4 separate regions of the Homo sapiens genome follow, and all the other regions are linked to region 1. The links are contacts of gene promoters, found by promoter capture Hi-C in human tissues and cell types (Jung and others, 2019). All regions are on one chromosome and are shown on one strand. Each heading gives the region's core, a stretch centred on a gene start or on the middle of the fragment in contact. The rest is flanking DNA. Distances are from core to core; before and after follow the strand shown.

What was found. Contacts are between HindIII fragments. The study calls those that stand out against the background at their distance.
Region 2: a contact is called between a fragment that was not itself captured here and the fragment with the promoter of GALT in region 1, in 1 of the 25 tissues and cell types used here (heart left ventricle).
Region 3: a contact is called between a fragment that was not itself captured here and the fragment with the promoter of GALT in region 1, in 1 of the 25 tissues and cell types used here (fat).
Region 4: a fragment that was not itself captured here is called in contact with the fragment with the promoter of GALT in region 1 in 1 of the 25 tissues and cell types used here (hippocampus).

What each region holds. Positions count from the first base shown.
Region 1 is chr9:34,644,634-34,647,924 of GRCh38, reverse strand. GALT (galactose-1-phosphate uridylyltransferase) reads right to left here and starts at 1,250. Exons shown (of 11, transcript NM_000155.4): 1 at 1,139-1,250; 2 at 667-836; 3 at 358-433; 4 at 220-268; 5 at 1-93. The coding sequence starts at 1,220. RefSeq lists enhancers at 646-825, 1,396-1,505, 2,719-3,013 and a silencer at 2,719-3,013. The HindIII fragment of the contact is 1,689 bases long and covers 815-2,503 here.
Region 2 is chr9:34,284,171-34,287,615 of GRCh38, reverse strand. KIF24 (kinesin family member 24) reads left to right here. Exons shown (of 13, transcript NM_194313.4): 6 at 912-999. Among named protein-coding and RNA genes, the nearest start is that of KIF24, 43 kb to the left of the region's middle. The HindIII fragment of the contact is 3,184 bases long and covers 1-3,107 here.
Region 3 is chr9:34,163,720-34,166,901 of GRCh38, reverse strand. No RefSeq gene overlaps it. Among named protein-coding and RNA genes, the nearest start is that of UBAP1, 14 kb to the left of the region's middle. The HindIII fragment of the contact is 3,163 bases long and covers 336-3,182 here.
Region 4 is chr9:34,338,869-34,341,996 of GRCh38, reverse strand. It overlaps NUDT2 (nudix hydrolase 2), which reads right to left. Exons shown (of 5, transcript NM_001161.5): 4 at 2,831-2,973. The coding sequence starts at 2,957. Among named protein-coding and RNA genes, the nearest start is that of NUDT2, 11 kb to the right of the region's middle. The HindIII fragment of the contact is 7,642 bases long and covers 1-3,128 here.

The DNA of each region.
Region 1 (3,291 bases), core at 1-2,500:
ACTGAGGCCCATGCATCAACAACAGCCCGGATCTCAGGGACCGACATGAGTGGCAGCGTTACATCCGACCAGGGGTGGAAGCACATGACCTTACTGGGTGGTGACGGGAGAAAAGATAACCGAGAGGTAGGGCTTGGCTGTGCTACGGGCAGGGCCGAACCCCAATGCTGAGTCTCCAACTCTGGTTTGAAAGTTGTAAGAGGGGAAATCCATAGTTACCAGACTCCTCGAGCAGACTTTGCTTGGAAAAGGGGATGATCACTGGGTCCTGAGGTAAAGGAGTATCACTCTCTGCAGCAGAAGTCCCTCAAGAGGTCTAGCCACCCTCCTCCCCAGCAGCAGTTGGAGCCAGGTTACCTGGACTGGGGGCATCAGGCTGCAGAGCTGGGAAGTCGTTGTCAAACAGGAAGGTGCTATCGTACTGGGGATTCACCTACCGACAAGGATAGGCTAGAAGCACTCACTGCCCCATACCACCAGTTACCTGGTGGGCTTCAAAGACTGGACAGGCTACAAGGGAGTAGGGAAGGCCCACCCTAGGGGACCAAAAAGCTTGGTGGGATATGACCCAGAAGGAGGTTCACTATCCCTGTGGGTGGAGGACAGTTCTAAGAGGGAACTACTCCCCGTGGCCCAGCCTGCAGATGCAGGGCTCTACAGGCTTACCTCTCCGTTGGCTCGGATGGCCCCAGGACACAGAGGGTTGAGAGGGTCATGGCGGGGCACTGTCTTCAGAAGCTGGGGCTCCACTTGACCCTGCCAGGGCCGCTTCATGCGGTGAGCTGACACCAGCACCCACTCATCCTGCAGCGGGTTGTAGCGGATATGCTGATGGTCTGGGGGCAGACAGTCAAGATCAGTCCTCAGAGCTCTCTAGCTCCCTCTCTCCTGGGTCTCACCCACCAGCAGGCCCAAGCTCGGGAGCGCCCTCTCGGCCCTGTCCCGCTCAGGAGCTAGAGGCCCAGGATTGGACTTTCCCAGCGCCAATTGGCCTGCTGCTCGTACAGGCCTGCAGACTGTACGCCTTGTCGGTCTGGCTCGGGATGAGCGTTCCAACCTTCGGAGGGGACGAAAGCTTCCTAAGGAAGGGGAGGGCTCGGCTCCGCGCCCCAGCGAGTCCCTGCCGCGGTGCAGTTACCGTTTGCCCGGAAGGTTGCTGCTGCGGCGTCCGCCTCTGACGCCTGCTGGCGTTGCTGAGGATCGGTTCCACTGCGCGACATGAGGCCACCGGGGGATCCGCTGGAAAATCTGCAGGGCCGTGCCTCACCTTTCACTTTCTCCGTCCACACCACCCCTCCCCGCGCCGCCCCCGATGATTGGCCAGCCGCCAGCACGTGACTGACTGACTGGGCTGCCCTGCCACCTGGGGGCGGGGCTCAGAACAGCTGTGAACCCTGGGGGCCGACATTGATGATCCTACTTCACCCAGAGCTAGAGCCACTACACTGGAAGAACCTCTGTGAAAGCTGCCTACTGCAGAATCCTTGGGCTCCAGGATGCCTACAGGACTTGCTTGCTGCAATCATTCATTTGATCTTTCATTCAGCAAATATTTACCAAGCATCTAGCATGTGCTAGGCACCTAGGCTGTGTAAAGCATTGGGATGCACATGTCAGGCATGGCCTCTGCCCTGCCTGAGCTTACATTCTAGGGCGAGTAAGGATATGACCCTGGATCAACAGCGCCTCAGTCACCTGCTCAGTGGCTGTAGCGCAGGAGAGGCAAACTTGGTGGGGTCTGTGTGGAGTACTTCACCATAACCATATCCTATCCCCAAAAGCAAAAACAGATTTGGGAAAAAGGGCTAAGTAACCATATTCTCTTTTTCTCTCACTCTTGCTCTCCTTCCTCTCTCTCTCTCTCTCTTTTTCATACACACACCAAGACAGCACAAGAAGTGGGAGGGGTAAAAGGGCTATAAAAAAAAATCTAAAAATGGCCGGGCTCGGTGGCTCACGCCTGTAATCCCAACACTTTGGGAGACCAAGGCAGGCGGATCACAAGGTCAAGAAATTGAGACCATCCTGGCCAACATGGTGAAACCCCGTCTCTAGTAAAAAAAAAAAAAAAAAAAATTAGCTGGTCTTGGTGGCGTGCACCTGTAGTCCCACCTACTCGGGAGGCTGAGGCAGGAGAATCACTTGAACCCAGGAGGCAGAGGTTGCAGTGAGCCGAGATTGTGCCCATGCACTCTAGCCTGGCGACAGAGCAGACTCCGTCACAAAAAAAAAAAAAAAAGTACAAGAAAGTCTAAAAATGTGGAGAGTACAGGACTATCAGAAGCTCCAGCCACCATCTAGGTGGGGCCTAGTGTTTCCTTTACACATCCCCTTCCCTTTTCTAAATTTTCCTTGGATGGGACCAATTGGCTAACACTAGGATAAAATTCAAATTAATTCCTCCCCTGGTACTTTTGTTTGTTTGTTTGTTTGAGAGAGAGTCTCACTCTGCCACCCAGGCTGGAGTGCAGTGGCGTGATCTTGGCTCACTGCAACCTCCACCTCCCAGGTTCAAGCGATTCTCCTGCCTCAGCCTCCAAGTAGCTGGAATTAGAGCTGTGTGCCACCACACTGGGCTAATTTATGTATTTTTAGTAGAGACGGGGTTTCACATGTTGGCCAGGCTGGTCTTGAACTCCTGACTTCAAGTGATCCTCCTGCCTCAGCCTCCCAAACAGCTGGCCCCCAGTACTTTTAAAGAGCCATCTAAATATTGTCTAAACCTCTTCCCCATTTCACATTGGAGCCCAGAGGACTCAAGGTCACCCAGAGAATTAGTGGCCAAGCTGAGATTTGAATGCAAGTTTCCAAGGCTTTTCCCAGTGCTGTGAGATGCCTCTGAGGCTTCAGTGGAATGCAGGACAGAGACCCAGTGAGTTAGAAGTTGAGCCATAGCAGGGACATCCCTTCCCCCAATCAAGACCAAGCCAAGCCAGGTGTTTTGCAATTGAGCTGCAAAAACTAGGTCATGGGTCATTTACTTGATCTCTGCCCTAGGGTCCTCAGACTGGAATAGGAAGAGGCTACCTTCAGAGGTAGGGGGCAGGGAGCTGAGGACTGAGAAACAGGGGTTTTACCTGTCCCACTGGCTGTTCATATTACCCAAAGAGGTGAGACAGGAACAGGAGATCTGCTTTTCCATTCTCTCATTTATATTTGTTTGAGTGACTAGAGCTTGTAGACAGCTCCATTTTCCCAAGAACACCAGTGCTTCAGTGCCGCCCCCTGAATCATGCTAATTAAATCCTGACCCCCATCAGGAACATCTCTTCAGGAACATCTCCATAATTC
Region 2 (3,445 bases), core at 266-2,765, 360 kb after region 1:
GAAAAAAATTATTTTTGAGAAAATCATTCTTGTATTTTAAGTTATGAAGTGGAATTCCGTTCTTAACCCTAATCAGTATCTTATTAAGAGGGAAAAATAATCTTAGAGTCTTTGATAGATTCAACATATGCCTCTCAGTGGATCTGGTTTAATGATGATGGTAGACCATAACCATTTATTACCTTGAATGCAGTCCTAAGGCATTCAGATGCAGCCCAGCTCTTCCTTGCTCCTTTATAAGATGTATCAGGTCTCTTTACATTGCAAATAAAAGAAAACCCCATGTGTACTAGCTTAAGCATTTAGGGAAATCATTGGCTCAAATAACTGGAAAGCTTAGAGGACAGTCAGGCTTCAGCATTGGTTTACTCCAGCAGCTCAGGGATGCAATAAGGACCCAGTTTATTTGCATCTCTTCATTCTGTCTTCTGTGTTATTAGTTTCATCCTGAAGCCAACTCTCTTTGTAGATACAAAATGGCTTCCACTGCTCCCAGGGCCACAGGGCCATATGCTTTCACATCCAGGGACAGAGAGAGAGCATCACTTCACCAGGCATCTAACAACCAGAGACCAGGACTTTACTTTGATTGGACCAGCAGAGATCCCATATCCACCTCTGAACAAATCACAGTATAGCCAGGTGTACATCATCCACTGATTAGCATAGTTTAGATATGTGCTCATTCTTTTAATTGTAGCCAGAGTTGTTGATTTATTTTACAACAATCAACAACCACCCCTGAATCGGGCTGAGGTCAGGAGGGTGGGGTTGGGAGGAGGATAAGCATCCATCCCACTCAAACAGAAAACTGCTACTTAATAGAGGAATGGTGGAATGGTTTCTGGGGAGGCAAGAACAAAGTCTGTTTTAGTAGCACCATCATACCAACCACTTTCTTGCATCTGCAGGCTCTTTGCAAGAGAAGATAGCAAGCACATGGTGCAGATAGTGGGACTGCAAGAGCTTCAGGTGGACAGTGTGGAGCTCCTCTTAGAGGTAATTAATTCTTCCTTCTTTATTACCCCACCACAACAGTGTAAGTACAGGGAACAAATTCATTTTGCTACTAAGCAAGTACTGTGGACTTATATTTAGGCAAAGGGCAATGACAAGCCCACCACTTCCCATCTGTAAAATGTGAATTCTTTTCTGAGAGGATAGCTTGTTTCTCTATAGGGTTTCTCCCACGATTAGTGGGAGGTAGGGCATGTGGGAGAACTTAATTCATTGGGAGGATACTACTGGGCCAGTTTCTTTTTGTTGTTGTTGTTGTTGTTTTGAGATGGAGTCTCGCTCTGTCACCCAACCTGGAGTGCAATGGCACAATCTCTGCTCACTGCAACCTCTGCCTCGTGGGTTCAAGCAATTCTCCTGCCTCAGCCTCCTGAGTAGCTGAGATTACAGGCTCCCACCACCACACCTGGCTAATTTTTGTATTTTTAGTAGAGACAGGGTTTCACCATGTTGGCCAGGCTGGTCTTGAACTCCTGACCTCAGGTGATCCACCCGCCTCGACCTCCCAAAGTGCTGGGATTACAGCCGTGAGCCACCGCACCCAGCCTTATTGGGCCAGTTTCAAATGCTGCTAATGTGTTTCTCTATGGCAGTGGGCTCTGGGAAAAGCTGCTGGAGACAAATATTTGCACTTTAAATTCTTTTTACTTTTTTTTTTTTTTTTTTTTAAGCAACAGGGTCTTGCTCTGTTGCCCAGGCTGGAGTATAGAGGTGTAGTCATAGCTCACCGCAGCCTCCCACTTCAGCCTCCCAAGTAGCTGGGGACTGCAGGCACATGCCACCACACCTGGCTAATTTTTTTTTAATTTTTTTTTTTTTTTTTTGAGATGGAGTCTCACTTTGTCACCTAGGCTGGAGTGCAGTGGCGCAATCTCTGCTCATTGCAAGCTCTGCCTCCCGGGTTCATGCCATTCTCCTGTCTCAGCCTCCCAAGTAGCTGGGACTACAGGCACCCGCCACCACGCCCAGCTAATTTTTTGTATTTTTTAGTAGAAACGGGGTTTCACCGTGTTTGCCAGAATGGTCTCGATCTCCTGACCTCATGATCCGCCCACCTTGGCCTCCCAAAGTGCTGGGATTACAGGCGTGAGCCACCACGCCCTGCCAGACCTGGCTAATTTTTAAAAATTTTTTGTAGAGATGGTGTCTTGCTGTGTCGCCTAGGGTGGTCTCGAACTCCTGACCTCAAGCAGTCCTCTCACCTTGGCCTCTTAAAGTGCTAGGATTACAGGCGTGAGCCACCGCACCTGGCCCTTATTTTAAATACAATTTTTAATAAGTAATACTATCACATGAGTTCAGAATTCAAAAGTGAAAATACCCACTTCCATTTCCTTTTCCAGAGCAACTAATTTTATTAGTTTTTTGTGTGTCCTTCCAAAGGAATTTTTCAATCTGCTTCTTTTATTAAGTTATTCTTTTATTGTAATAAAAGTCATACTTATCATTAAGTTTAAACATTACAGAAATATGTAAGAAGATAGTAAAGGCCCCTCTAACTTACTATACATACCCCACTTCCCCTGTTCCCCACTGAGCTATCCACTGTCCACGGTAAAATATTTAATTTTTTTTTCCTGTTCTGGGCATTTATTAACGTAAGTACAAATAGATTTCTGTTGAACCTTCCTTTAATGCAGTGTTCCTCAACCCTGGCTTTACATTAGATTGTTTGGAGCCTTTTTTTCCTTACTTAAAAAATGATTTAACCTTTTTTATTGTGAAAAATAGCACTATACAGAAAAATGCATAAAACCTAAGTATGTACAGTATAAAGAAACAAGCACCCTTGTAATCAGCTACTCAGATCAAGAAATAGAACATTGTAGCACCCTACAAACCCCCTGTGTGACTTTCCAATAACACCCCCCTATTATCCTGACTTTTGTGCTGATCACTTTCTTGTTATTTGTTATAGTTTTACCACCTATGTATTTATCCCCAAACCATCTAAGTTAGTTTTCATCTGTTTTTGAACTTTGCTTGAGTAGAACTACACTGTGTATTTTTTGGTGTTTTGTTTCTTTTGCTCAATATTATGCTTTTCAGTTCCATTGAGGTTTTTGCATTTGGCTTTAGTTTTCTTCATTTTTATTTTCTGTAGAGTGTTTTATCATAGGAATATACCACAATTTATCCATTCTCCTGTTAATAAACAACTGGGGTTGTTTCTATTTTAGAGTTATTTGGAGCATTGCAGCTGTGAGTGTGCTTATACATGTATTTCTGTACAGAGCACATGGGTTGTCTAGGATATATACCTAGCTGTGAAATGATTAGGTCAGATGATATGCTTTTTCTTTTTTTATTATTTTTATTTTTTTCTAGAGACAGGGTCTTGCTCTGTCCAGCCCAGGCTGGAGTCCAGTGGCATGAACACATGGCTCACTGCAGCCTTGACCTCCTGGGCTCAAGCAATCCTCCTACC
Region 3 (3,182 bases), core at 668-3,167, 480 kb after region 1:
TGCCATGATTGGAAGCTTCCTGAGGCCTCCCCAGAACAGATGCTGCTATGCTTCCTGTACAGCCTGCATAACCATGAGCCATTAAACATCTTTTTTTTTTTTTTTTTTTGAGATGGAGTCTCGCTCTGTCACCCAGGCTGGAGTGCAGTGGTGCAATCTCGATTCACTGCAAGCTCCACCTCCTGGGTTCACACCATTCTCCTGCCTCAGCCTCCCAAGTAGCTGGGACTACAGGCTCCCGCCACCAGGCCCGGCTAATTTTTTGTATTTTTAGTAGAGGCGGGGTTTCACCATGTTAGCCAGGATGGTCTCGATCTCCTGACCTCGTGATCCACCCACCTCGGCCGCCCAAAGTGCTGGGATTACAGGCATGAGCCACCATGCCCGGCCTAAACATCTTTTCTTGTAAATTATTCAGTGTCAGGTATTTCTTTTTTTTTTTTAAGTTCAGGGGTACATGCGCTGGATATGCAGGTTTGTTACATAGATAAACGTGTGCTGTGGTGGTTTGCTGCACAGATCATCCTATCACCTAGGTATTAAGCCCAGCATCCATTAGCTATTCTTCGTGATGCTCTCCCTCCTCCCTGCCAGGTATTTCTTTAGAGCAGCGCAAGAAGGACCCAACACATTGCCCATTCCTCTTTGTTAAAGCTTAGCATTCCTCCTTGCTTGAAGACAATGTAAAAATACCTGCCTTACAAGACAGGTGCCTGTTTACCTGGGCATGGTGGTGTGCACCTGTAATCCCAGCTACTCAGGAGGCAGAAGCCGGATAATCACTTGAACATGGGAGGTCGAGGCTGTAGTGAGCCGAAATTGCGCCACTGCACTCCAGCCTGGGTGACAGAGCAAGATCCTGTCTCAAAAAAAAAAAAAAAAAAAAAAAGATAGGTGCCTTGCCATCTGGATCTACTTTAAAGTCCCAACCTAATCATTGGACCAATAACTAAAATTAAATAACAACATGAATGACCAGGACATGCCGAAGGAGGAAAGAGACTATAGCTAAAGGAGCTGTAGAACATAACCAATATGTACTGACAAATGGCAGGAGAATATTCATGGGACTGGATTCTGAGGATTCCAATTCTCAACCAAAATAGGGAGAGGTTATCAACTTGGAACACAGGATTTAACACCCTGACAAGGACCCTGAGAAATAGTGCTAACATATTCTTAGGATGGGTCTTATGAGCTTAGAGAAAGTGATGGGCTGTAATAAATAAATAGAAATATCAGACCGGGCAGCTCATACCTCTAATACCAGCTCTTTGGGAAGCTAAGGTGGGTGGATCACTTGAGGAGTTTGAGACCAGCCTGGCCAACATGGTGAAACCCCATCTCTACTAAAAATACAAAAATTAGGCTGGGCGCGGTGGCTCACGCCTGTAATCCCAGCACTTTGGGAGGCCGAGGTGGGTGGATCAAGAGGTCAGGAGATTGAGACTATCCTGGCTGACACGGTGAAACCTCACCTCTACTAAAAATACAGAAAATTAGCCGGGCGCCGTGGCAGGTGCCTGTAGTCCCAGCTACTCGGGAGGCTGAGGCAGGAGAATGGCGTGGACCCGGGAAGCAGAGCTTGCAATGAGCCAAGATCGCGCCACTGCACTCTGTCTGCCTAGGCGACAGAGCGAAACTCTGTCTCAAAAAAAAAAAAAAAAAAACAAACAAATAAAAATACAAAAATTAGACCGAGCGTGGTGGCTTATGCCTCTTATCCCAGCGCTTTGGGAGGCTGAGGTAGGTGGATCACCTGAGGTCAGGAATTTGGGACCAGCCTGGCCAACATGGGGAAACCTCGTCTCTACTAAAAATACAAAAAAAATTATCTGGGCAAGGTGGCGCATACCTGTAATCCCAGCTACTGGGGAGGCTGAGGCAGGAGAATCACCTCAACCCAGGAGGCAGAGCTTGCTGTGAGACGAGATCACGCCATTGCACTCCAGCCTGGGCAACAAGAGTGAGACTCTGTCTCAAGCGAACAAACAACAACAAACAAACAAAAAATTAATGGGGAGTAGTGGCTTGCACCTGTAATCCCAGCTACTTGGGAGGCTGAGGCAGGAGAATTGCTTGAACCCAGGAGGGTGAGGTTGCAGTAAGCCGAGATCACACCACTGCACTGCAGCCTGGGTGACAGAGTGAGACTCTGTCTCAAAAAAAAAAAAAAAAAAAAAAAGAGGCCGGGTACAGTGGCTCATGCCTATAATCCTAGCACTTTCGGAGGCTGAGGCGGGTGGACCACCTGAGGTCAGGAGTTCAAGCCTGGCCAACAAGGTGAAACCCCATCTCTACTAAAAATACAAAAATTAGCCAGGCGTGGTGGCAGGCACTTGTAATCCCAGCTACTCAGGAGGCTAAGGCAGGAGAATCGCTTGAACCTGGGAGGTGGAGGTTGCAGTGAGCCGAGATTGCACCATTGCACTCCAGCCTGGGCAAAAACAGCAAAATTCCATCTCAGAAAAAAAAAAAAAAAAAGAAATATCAGAACTGCTATAGGAGATGGTGCAAGTAGGGATCAAAAGACTAAAAGAAGAGGAAAGTTAGAATGGATATACCGTGTAAAACCAGGAAACTTACCAAATGACTTTTCCACAGAAGAGCTCCAAGGAATTCTCTGATGAAAGTGACATTGGAGGGGCTGGGCACGGTGGCTCACACCTGTAATCTCAGCCCTTTGGGAGGCCAAGGTGGGTGGATCACTTAAGCTCAGGAGTTCAAGACCAGCCTAAGCAATACAGTGAGACCCCATCTCTACTAAAAATACAGAAAAAATAGCCAGGCATGGTGGTACATGCTTGTGGTCTCAACTACTCAGGAAGCTAAGATGGGAGGATCAATTGTGCCTAGGGGTGGACAGAGGTTGCAGCAAGCCGAGATCATGCTACTGCACTCCAGCCTGGGTGACAGAGTGAGCCCCTGTCTCAAAAAAAGAAAAGTGATATTGGTATTACTGAGAAGCTCAGTGGTAGCTGCCCTTGTGGTTTCAGAACAGGGCACCTTGATAGCAATGGGAATAATAGTATCTTAAAATAATAGAGGCCAGAGAGCAGCATGTAACCATCAGAAGCAAATAGTTGCAATTACAATGATCTATGAAGTTGGAACAGCAGCCAGAGGGTCCTGACCTGCAGAGAGCGATGGAGATGGCTAATAGTTCATGATGTTCTTAAAGG
Region 4 (3,128 bases), core at 93-2,592, 310 kb after region 1:
CTGGGAACGGTCTGGCAGACTCTGTCTACACCTTGGCTCCAGTAAGTTTCTAGGGAGGCCTCCTGCTCACAGGCTCATGGCGAGCAGGAACTCAGTTGTTCTCTCCTTGGTTTGGAGATGGGGGCCCTCATCCTTCCCAGGGGTCTACAATGCCCAGAGCCAGCTGCTGCACAAAAAACTCCCCAGGGTCCAGGGGCGGTGGCTCATGCCTGTAATCCCAACACTCTGGGAGGCCGAGGCGGGTGGATCATCTGAGGTCAGGAGTTTGAGACCAGCCTGGCCAACATGGTGAAACCCTGTCTCTACTAAAAATACAAAAATGAGCTGGGCGTGGCAGTGGACATCTGTAATCCCAGCTACTCGGGAGGCTGAGGCAGGAGAATCACTTGAGCCCAGGAGGCGGAGGTTGCAGCGAGCCAAGATTGTGCCATTGTACTCCAGTTTGGGCAACAGAGCGAGACTCCGTCTCAAACAAACAAACAAAACCCCCAGAAACTTAGCACTTAAAAACCATTCTAGCTTATAGCTTCTGGGGAATTTTCTCTGCACAAGCACCTCCTATAGTGGTGTACACAAAGACAGACAGGTAATGCATCAGGGGAGCAAGGTGGGAGGGATGCTAGTAGTGATGGGTGATACTGACTCAGGACGTCCTACCTCCCCTCAGAGGTGTATGGAAGTCCCTGAGCACACCCCTCCCAGGGGCATCTATTCAGTATTCTGTCCATCAGTGTTAATTAACAGGGTAGCTTCTGCCGAAGCAGGAAAGGATTAGGAGAGGTCCACTGACATCAGGTAGTGAGAGGAACAAGGCAGTGTGACTCATGTGATCCGGAGACAAGTGTGAATATTCCTATTCATAGTATTTGTGAAGCTTCTGCCTCTTTTTTCACCTTGTTTCTCCCCAGTACAACTCAAACATGCAAAATTTATTTCCTGTTCCCATTTCCTTGTTTTCCTTCAATCCTGGATCTTTGTCCATCCCTTCTAACCCCACTCCCTTTTAAAGTCCCCGCTTCTGGCCAGGCGTGGTGGCTCATGCCTATAATCCCAGCACTTTGGGAGACCAAGTGGGCAGATCACTTGAGCCCAGGAGTTCAAGACCAGCCTGGGCAATATAGTAAGACCCTGTCTCTATAAAATAGTAATAATAATAACAAAATAATTTAAAAAATAAAGTCCCTGCTTCCTTCTGTCTGAGGGCTATTCCTCATTCCAGCAGGCACCTGAGCCACAGTCTGTCCCTCCCAACTCAAACCATCCCAATGGCCTCAGCCAAGAAGGGCTCCTTTTTCCCATTTCTCCCCACACAGCCTGGCTTCTCTTTCAGGACCAAATGACTGCAGCTTTCTTACTCTTAGAGGTGAGGTCAGGAGTGCTGGTGGATGAAAACTGGCCAGCTTACAAACAGATCTTGGCCTGGCCTAAGGCCTCAGGCCAGTAGTCTTCACTGTTCTTCCCACTGGAGACTTGCCCGACTCCACCCTCAGTGCTGAGTGATAGACTCAAGGCACAGGTAGCTAGCTGGTCAAGCTGCAATCTCAAGGTCTCCATAATCTTTACAGTCTAAGAAGGCCCTGCCCATCCCCTCCTGGTCTAAGAAGGCCCTGCCCATCTCCTCACTCCTCCACTCCTGCCACAATCTGCAGATGAATCTATGATCAGGGAGCCCAACTTCTCTATGCTCCAACTCAAAATACAACTATGTTCAGAAACACTGTAGAACTCATACTCTCTGTGTTTAGTTCAAAAGAAAAACCTGGCTGGGTGCGGTGGCTCACGCCTGTAATCCCAGCACTTTGGGAGGCTCAGACGGGCAGATCACCTGAGGTCAGGAGTTTGACACCAGCCTGGCCAACATGGTGAAACCCCGTCTCTACTAAAAATACAAAAAATTAGCCAGGCGTGGTGGTGGGCGCCTGTAATCCCAGCTACTCAGGAGGCTGAAGCAGGAGAATTGCTTGAACCTGGGAGATGGAGGTTGCAGTGAGCTGAGATTGCCCCACTGCTCTCCAGCCTGGGCGACAAAGCGAGACTTTGTCTCAAAAAAAAAAAGAAAAGAAAAACCTAATGATAGGGACACTGAACTAGGAGTCAAAGGAAATTGATCAAATGAAATCAGAGACAGGCTGGAAGAAAACTTAGGATTTTCTTTTTTTTGAGACAGGCTCTGTTGTCCAGGCTGGAGTGCTGTGGCACAATCTCGGCTCACTGCAGCTTTGATCTCTCGAGCTCAAGTTATTCTCTAACCTCAGCCTCCTGAGTAGCTGGGACTACAGGTGTGCACCACCACACCTGGCTAATTTTTGTATTTTTTGTAGAGACATGGTTTTGCCATTTTGCCCAGGCTGGTCTCGAGCTCCTGGGCTCAAGCAATCTGCCCACCTCGACCTCCAAAAGTGCTGGGATTATAGGCGTGTGCCACTGTGCCTGGCTGAAAACAGGATTTTCTAGTCAAGCCCTTGTTTGACAGATGAAAAACTCAAAGCTGAGAGGTGGGCACATAGCTCAGTCAACCTCAAGGTCCCCAATTCCCTGCCCACTGTTTTTTCTCTTACCCAGCCATTCACCACAGAGGTTGGAGAGCTGGCGAATGATACTCATAAAAACACCAGGTGCTGTTTCTACCCTGGAATTCAGTCACAGAATTCTCAGCTCTACTCTGGCCTGGTCTGGAGACCTTGTATGTAGAAAGGGTCAAGAGCTCCTACCTTCCCTACCCCTTTTTGCTACACAGTCACTGGGAATTAAGCCTTGGGGAGGGCCTGGCAGGGTAGATTTCTGAGCAGTGGTTGGCAGTTTCCCAAGAGCTGGCCCCTCTGGCCTCTACCTTTGGGAGGAGTCCAGTGATGAATGCCATCTGATGCCTGCAGCAGTAAAAACTCAATTGCATTGTTGTCCACTTTGGGAATGAGGCATCTTCGGAAGATGATCAAGCCACATGCTCTCAAGGCCATGGTCTTATCCTAAGGACTTAACAAAGAAGATACAGAATATTGGGAAGTTACACAAAATAGGAAGCTCCATACTGGGGGGTAGCAATCTGGTGATGGACAGTAATGCAGACTAGCTAACTGTGATCTCATAGCCCACAGAAAAAGGCAGCATGCCCAGGACCAATGGAAGGC